Regions from separate parts of the Homo sapiens genome. Here region 1 is linked to region 2. Evidence: promoter capture Hi-C in 16 types of primary human blood cells and fetal thymus (Javierre and others, 2016). All regions are on one chromosome and are shown on one strand. The core of a region is centred on a gene start or on the middle of the fragment in contact, and the rest is flanking DNA. Distances in the headings are between cores, read along the strand shown.

What was found. The method cuts DNA at HindIII sites, captures the fragments that hold promoters and counts their contacts. A CHiCAGO score of 5 or more calls a contact.
Region 1: the fragment with the promoter of PECR here is called in contact with a fragment that was not itself captured in region 2 in 1 of 17 cell types (activated CD4 T cells); the score reaches 5.2 in activated CD4 T cells.

The regions. Positions count from the first base shown.
Region 1 is chr2:216,079,858-216,083,332 of GRCh38, reverse strand. PECR (peroxisomal trans-2-enoyl-CoA reductase) reads left to right here and starts at 1,524. Exons shown (of 8, transcript NM_018441.6): 1 at 1,524-1,715. The coding sequence starts at 1,592. It overlaps TMEM169 (transmembrane protein 169), which reads right to left and starts at 1,414. Exons shown (of 3, transcript NM_001142311.2): 1 at 1,354-1,414. RefSeq lists a silencer at 1,313-1,572 and enhancers at 1,763-1,812, 1,843-1,922. The HindIII fragment of the contact is 11,582 bases long and covers 1-3,475 here.
Region 2 is chr2:216,477,162-216,480,549 of GRCh38, reverse strand. SMARCAL1 (SNF2 related chromatin remodeling annealing helicase 1) reads right to left here. Exons shown (of 18, transcript NM_014140.4): 16 at 3,341-3,388; 17 at 2,251-2,347. Among named protein-coding and RNA genes, the nearest start is that of RPL37A-DT, 20 kb to the left of the region's middle. The HindIII fragment of the contact is 1,336 bases long and covers 1,471-2,806 here.

The sequences.
Region 1 (3,475 bases), core at 275-2,774, 400 kb after region 2:
GTTATATGTTTCTGCAACAACACTTTGAGCTTTCCTGTTTGAATTTACTTTGTTTTAAAGGAGGTGATGGCGTTGTAATTTTAAAAATTTGGTCCTAACTACAGAATTGACTTAAGTAGTAGAGTTAAGTGATTCCTGGATAAACTATCTAGCAAATGGTAACCAGGAGATTTATTCCTTTCTTTAACGAGTGTAGATTTGAATCTGTCAGCAACAAAGATAGAGGGAGAAGTGATTCTAAAAAGAGATCAGAGAAGGACAAGAGGATGGAGCAACAGGGAAGTGTAGCTGTCCAACAAGAACTGCAGCCTCGCTGGTGGGTGGGACCTGGTGGAGGAAGTGATGGTCTGATTCCTCTGTCAACCAGACCCATTTCCAATTGGCTTTGTGAATCCTAGGTGGTAGGTCCAACAAAAGGATGATGGCATTTATTTGCCTTTATATTATTTTAATACCTGTCCGGGGAAAATGCAACACTCTGACAACAGCCTTAGAAATAGCATCCCATCTGGATTGTTAAGACCACAGCAACTGGCACATTCGACCAAGTTCTTAGGGTGAAGTCTCAGTAGGCCAGTCCAGGTGTAATCTCACTCTGGTGGGTTCAGAGCGGGAAGCAAGATGAAAAATAAGGAGCAGATCTGAATAATAAATCACTGTTACTGGGCACCATAACACAGACGAGAAATTTTCCCCATCCTCAGCGGGCTCACCCTCCTGCACAAGGAATGAACTACAGGACATGATCTCAAACACCTACAGATGCATCTTGCAGGAAGCGTGCACCCTTCAAGGAAAGATCCTCTTCTGGACTCGCTATGCAGCTCAGCTGAAATGGATCAGGTCTCAAACCTGGTAAAGATGATCTTTCCCCTTGATTCTTGGGTGGGGAGTGGGAGGTGAGACGGAGGTGGGCCTGAGTTTATTTTTTCAAATCGTTTATTCTCTTGGTTCTGTGGAAAACTGCAACCGCATCTCCTCTTCCCCTTCACTCTCTTTCCCGGGCTCCCTCCCGAAGGATGAAAGGATCTGAAAGCCGCATTTCTCCCCCTCAGCTAAGCCTGCCCTTTCTCCCCTTCCCAGCCAGCGGCACACAGCACCTGGAGCCACAGCATCGCCGACGTCCGACCCCGGCAGGCGGGCGCAGCGAGGGCGCCGAGCAGCAGCCTTTCTTTTTCCAGCTGCACTGGAGATTTAATTTTAATTAATCGTGAGAGCTTCAGCCCTGAGGATTGAATTTTTGAAATAGAGCACACCCTGCTTGTTTCTTTCTTCTTCTTTTTTTTTTTTTGCATTTCCCTTCCACCCTCCCCAATGGCATCGAAATTTAAAGAAACGAACGAGCAGTCTCACCCACACCTGCCCAGGGACCGACGCTGGCGGAGGTTGCGGACAGCCGGCGGGGAGCGGTTCTGCTCCGGGAGGATGCGGCTTTGCCGCGGCCGGCGGGCGGGGCGGGGCCGGGCCGGGGAGGGTGCGGGGTTCTGGTGGTCACGTGGGCTCGAGCACCGCCCTGTCCGCCCGCCCGCCTCGAATGTCCCTGAGACCCAGAAGGGCCTGCGCTCAGCTGCTCTGGCACCCCGCTGCAGGGATGGCCTCCTGGGCTAAGGGCAGGAGCTACCTGGCGCCTGGTTTGCTGCAGGGCCAAGTGGCCATCGTCACCGGCGGGGCCACGGGCATCGGAAAAGCCATCGTGAAGGAGCTCCTGGAGCTGGGTACGTGAGCGGGCCGCTGGTGCAGAGAGGTGGCTGTGGTGACCTGGGGTAACCTGGAGACGGGAGCCAGGAGCTCTCGGCGGGGCTGAGGGAGTGTGGAGCTGCAGAGCAAAGACGGGGCAGGTGTGGGCGAAATTACGACCACCAGGGAGACAGAAGAGAGCAGCTCTTCCTAAGGAATTGTGGAGCCACTCGTTAAAAACTGAAGAGACCACTCAGGCCAAAGAGACTGTGCCCCAGGTAGGCAGTAAGAAGAGCAGTGAAACATGCTGTGCAATTAGTTTTATATTCAGATTTAAAATTAATCCATTCTATATGCTTAATGTGAGTGATTAGGAAACGTGGGAAGACTTCATTTAACTGGAAAAAGTTGTGAACATAGTGAGTCTCTCATAGTATCTTCTCACATCTCTTAACCACAGCAAGGAAATATGCTGAATATTTACCTTAACTTGGGTGAAGGAAGGCCTTTGTAAACACATAAGTGAGGGAATAAACCACAAAGGAGAACATAAATCAATCTACCTGTATGAAAGTGTAAATCCTCATTGAATTAAAAAAATATATAAAGTTTAAAGGCATATGAAGAAAAATATTTGCAACATAAGATAAATTGTTTGTTGGTTTTGAGATAGGGTCTCACTCTGTTGCCTACGCTGGTCTCGAACACCTGGGTTCAAGGGATCCTCCTGCCTTGCCTCTGAGTCCTAAAGTTTTGGGATTACAGGCTGAGCCACTAGATTCGGCCAACAGCCTTATACATAAAGAGCTCTTACAAATAAAGAAAAAATCCAACACACTGATAGAAAAATTAGACTAATGGTATGGACTAAGCGTTCCAAAAGAAGAACTACAGACAGGCAAGAAACATATGAAAAAATAATCAACTTTATTGGTAATAAAATATGAAACAGTAAGATTTAACTTTTCTAACAAAATTTTGAAATGTTGGGAAAAATTAAAGTGTTGATGCAGGAATGAGAAGGCAGGAATGTAAATTATTACAAACTTTCTGGAAGGCAATTTGGAAAAAAAGATCCAAAAACCTTCACAATGTTTATGCTCTATGACAGTAATTCCTTTTTCAGGAATTTAAGGAAACGGAGTCAAGCAAAGATTTTCATGCAAGGATGTAGTCTTGAGTAGTGAAAAAATGGAAATTACCTAAAAATCCAATATAAGGAAAATAGTTAAATCAATAACAATGAAATATAATGCTTCCGTTTAAATATCTTGCTATTGGTCCTGGCGCAGTGGCTCACGCCTGTAATTCCAGCACTTTGAGAGGCCGAGGCGGGCAGATAACCTGAGGTCAGGAGTTTGAGACCAGCCTGGCCAACATGGTGAAACTCCATTTCTACTAAAAATACAAACCAGGCATGGTGGCGTACACCTGTAGTCCCAGCTACTTGGGAGGTTGAGGCGCAAGAATCGCTTGAACCTGGGAGGCAGAGGTTGCAATGAGCTGACGTCAAGCCACTGCACTCCAGCCTGGGCAACAGAGCGAGATTCCATCTCAATAAATAAATAAATATCTTGCTATTGAAGACTTACTTGGAGAAATGCATACCATATTATTGGGAAAAGTAGAATTCTAAACCTAATAGCATTCCAATTTTACTTTTTTTTTTTTTTTGAGATGGAGTTTCGCTCTTGTTGCCCAGGCTGGAGTGCAGTGGCGCCATCTTGGCTCACTGCAACCTCCGCCTCCTGGGTTCAAGCGATTCTCCTGCCTCAGCCTCCCGAGTAGTTGGGATTAC
Region 2 (3,388 bases), core at 889-3,388:
CATGTCCTCCTCCAGGATGCCCTCATCAGCCTCTTTCTGAATGACTGCAATGTCAAGGAAACGCCACCCTGCAAGGCAGCCTATTCCAAGTAGAAAAAGCTGCTAATGTGCATTTGATTATGATGATGGCAACACTGTATGCTGACTCGGGGCATGCATAATTAATTGGAAGCGAGTTCCAAGATCAGATTAATATTTCATTTCCCCTCTCAGAAGGAAGGCTATCTCAGTGAGATATAACCTCTTCTGCTTTTGTCTCCTATATTGGAAGCAACATTTTCTTTTTCTAGTAGTTGATAAAATTTTCAGCCCCATCTTAATTAAAAAATAAATTGATATAGTTATTGATCAAAATATTGATAAAACTCATTTATATTACCTTGTACTTATATTTTAGGTAGAAATGCTTAACCAATTTAGAGTAAGAGAAAGGCAAGGAGGAATAAATGAGTTCAAGTGAGAATCCTTTAAAAATAGGCTTTCTTTTTTTTCTTTTTTGAGACAAGGTCTGTCTCTGTTGCCTAGGCTGAAATGCAGTGGTGTGATCTTGGCCCACTGCAACCTCTGCCTCCCAGGTTCAGGGAATCCTCCTGCCTCAGTCTCCTGAGTAGCTGGGAATACAGGCATGTGCCATCATGCCTGGCTAATTTTTGTATTTTTTGTAGAGATGGGGGTTTCACCATGTTGCCCAGGCTGGTCTCAAACTCCTGGGCTCAAGTCATCTGTCCGCCTCAGTGTGGGATTAGAGGCTTGAGCCACTATGCCTGCTCAGACTATTTCTTTTCAAAAGGCTTGTAATAACCTAGGCTCTGTTACCATTTACCATTCAGCTGAACTGGAGAGTTCTTTAAAAAGCTTAAAAATAAGGTTGTTTTAAAATTGGCTTATTAACTATATATGTCTGAAAGGATAATTTGCAGTCTGCATTTAAAAATATGATCTGAGTCTTATTTATCCCAATATTTAGCAAATAAATCCTTGCAAAGAAAGAATTTATTTGCTAAATAAATGTAAGTGAATGAGCAGATCCACAGAGTCTTAAGTCTTGGTGTCAACGATAAGATTTAACTCAACTTCTTATTTATTTAAACTTTTTTCTTTCTCTTTTTTTTTTTTTGAGGCAGGCTCTTGCTCTGTTGCCCAGTTTAGAGTACAGTGACCATCATGGCTAACTACAGCCTTGACCTCCTAGGCTCAAGTGATCCTCACCTTTTCCTCTGGAGTAGCTGGGACTACAGGTGTGCACCACCATGTGTGGCCTAACTCAATATTCTGATGGTGATTTCACAGGAAGGAGGAGGTGCTTCACTTTCCTGATAAGCTACCGTAAGGCCCCTTTCTGCATGAGGCTCAGACCTGGTTCAAACTCTCCTGGCAGAAACAATTCAACCATGAGCTGTGCTCGAGGAGGGCATACTCCTGGTTTTCACCTTCTGGCCAACAATCCAAGCTGGGGAAGGAAAACAAGCTTTTGGAAGGCTCTGGGTCTCTTGCTCACTCCACTGTGTTTCACTGAAATGGGGGAGGAAGAGTCTGTGGCAGCCACTGGGCTGCAGCACTGAAACCAGGCAGGCATGATGGGCCCAGGGCTGTCCTGTTCAGAGGCAACAGCCTTCCCCCTCAGCACCTTTGACAAGGCCTGCCTGGTCATGGAGGGATGCCTCTTATACTCCTTTACAACAAGGGCTGAGCTCAAAGGAGGAATGCTGGGCCAAGTCAGGAAGCCTTCTTCCTTGGGCTGGCTTCACATGCCCTGTGACTTTGTGCAAACCTACTATACTGCCATGTCTCAGTTTACCCCTCTATCAAGTGGGGAGACACTGAGAATAAATAAAATGACAGAAGGGAAAATATATTCTATGAAGCCAGTACCCTATTTTAAACACTCCCCATTCTGTGCTGGGGATGCATTCCTGTGGCAGCCCTATGTGTGGTGTTGCTGTGTACTTTTTGAAACAATTCAACATTTGCCATGGGGAGTTTTGTCAGTTTCTAATGGCCTGCTGGAAGAGGCAGCATTCAGAGCCTGTGCGGGAATGTCAGCAGCTGTAGGAGCTAATGCCATCATTTCCCCATAAAGCGATGCATGCATGGTTCAACTGAGAATGACTGCAGGCCATTGTTTTCAGCTCTAGGCTGGGGGAGGTCCCTAGGAGTGATTCACATCCTCCTACTCAGGACCCAAAGACTTGGCAGACAGCTTAATGCCTCCCTCTGCTCCAGGGGTGAAGAGCCATGTGCTGGCATTACCTTGTAGAGGTAATCAGTGGATTCTGTCATTTCTGAAAAATTGGTCTCAGAAAGCCCGGCTTCTGCCAGAACTTTAATCTTCTCTTGAATCAGGGGCCTGTTGGGGAGAAATGAGCTGCAGTGAATACAACCTGCACAGAACCACCAGACTAATGAAAATGAGGCCACCCTCCTTGTTCTTATGGGACAACGGCTTGTTTACGGTTTCACATCTCTGCATCTCTCAAGGTGCAAACACCCATCTTGAAAAATTTGCCCCCTCTCATTTGTAAAAACTCCAATTTAGGGCTAAGAATATCATCAGGTTCAATATTCTTTCTAATGGAAGATGTGTAGGAAATAAATGCTGCCTCATTTCAACACAATTTTGAATCTGGTGGTATTATGAGCTGCCCAATTAACAAATCCACTAAAAAGGGGGAAGTAGGAGTGACCCACACACATTGCAAAGGGAAGACTCCTTAGTCATAAGGCTGGAAACAGAGACAAGCAGTGGAAACAAATGAGATAATCAAGAAATTTTGTATCAGGAAGGGGGAGATAAGGGGAAGAAGCTTTTTGAGATTTTTCACTTAGGTAACAGACAGAAAACCCTAGGGTTGAAAATCTTACTCCAGCTCTGCTAACGAAGTACACTACACAGTCCAGGGTAAGCCACTTTCTCCCTGTGGTCCAGCAGCAGCAATGTAAGATGTGCCCACCAGATAAATGCACATCATAAAAGGTAAAAGACTGTCACCCTGTCCTAACAAATGCCTTCACAGCTGGGAACAGGGTGTTTTACAAACTAAATTCCATCTATATTTTGTCATAATCAGCACTTCTCCCTGCCTCAGACCAGCAGCAAAAGGAGCCACAACCCCTTATTGCTATAAGATTCAGCATGCACCCTGCAAGCCACCAGTGAACGCTAGTGAGGGAGGCCAAATATGGTCATGATGAAAGCAGGAGGGCATCACTAGTCAATTTTCTATAGATCCTTAAAGACCTTACTTAGCAAAAGCAGAAGCACTTTGGGAGCAAAGTAAACATATCATCAGTTTCCACCCTTGCTCGACTCCAACTGCCAGGCCACCCAACCAAGCCATACCAAAGGTAGTCATCAGCTGTGCCCTTTGCCACGAGGTAGTGAATGCCC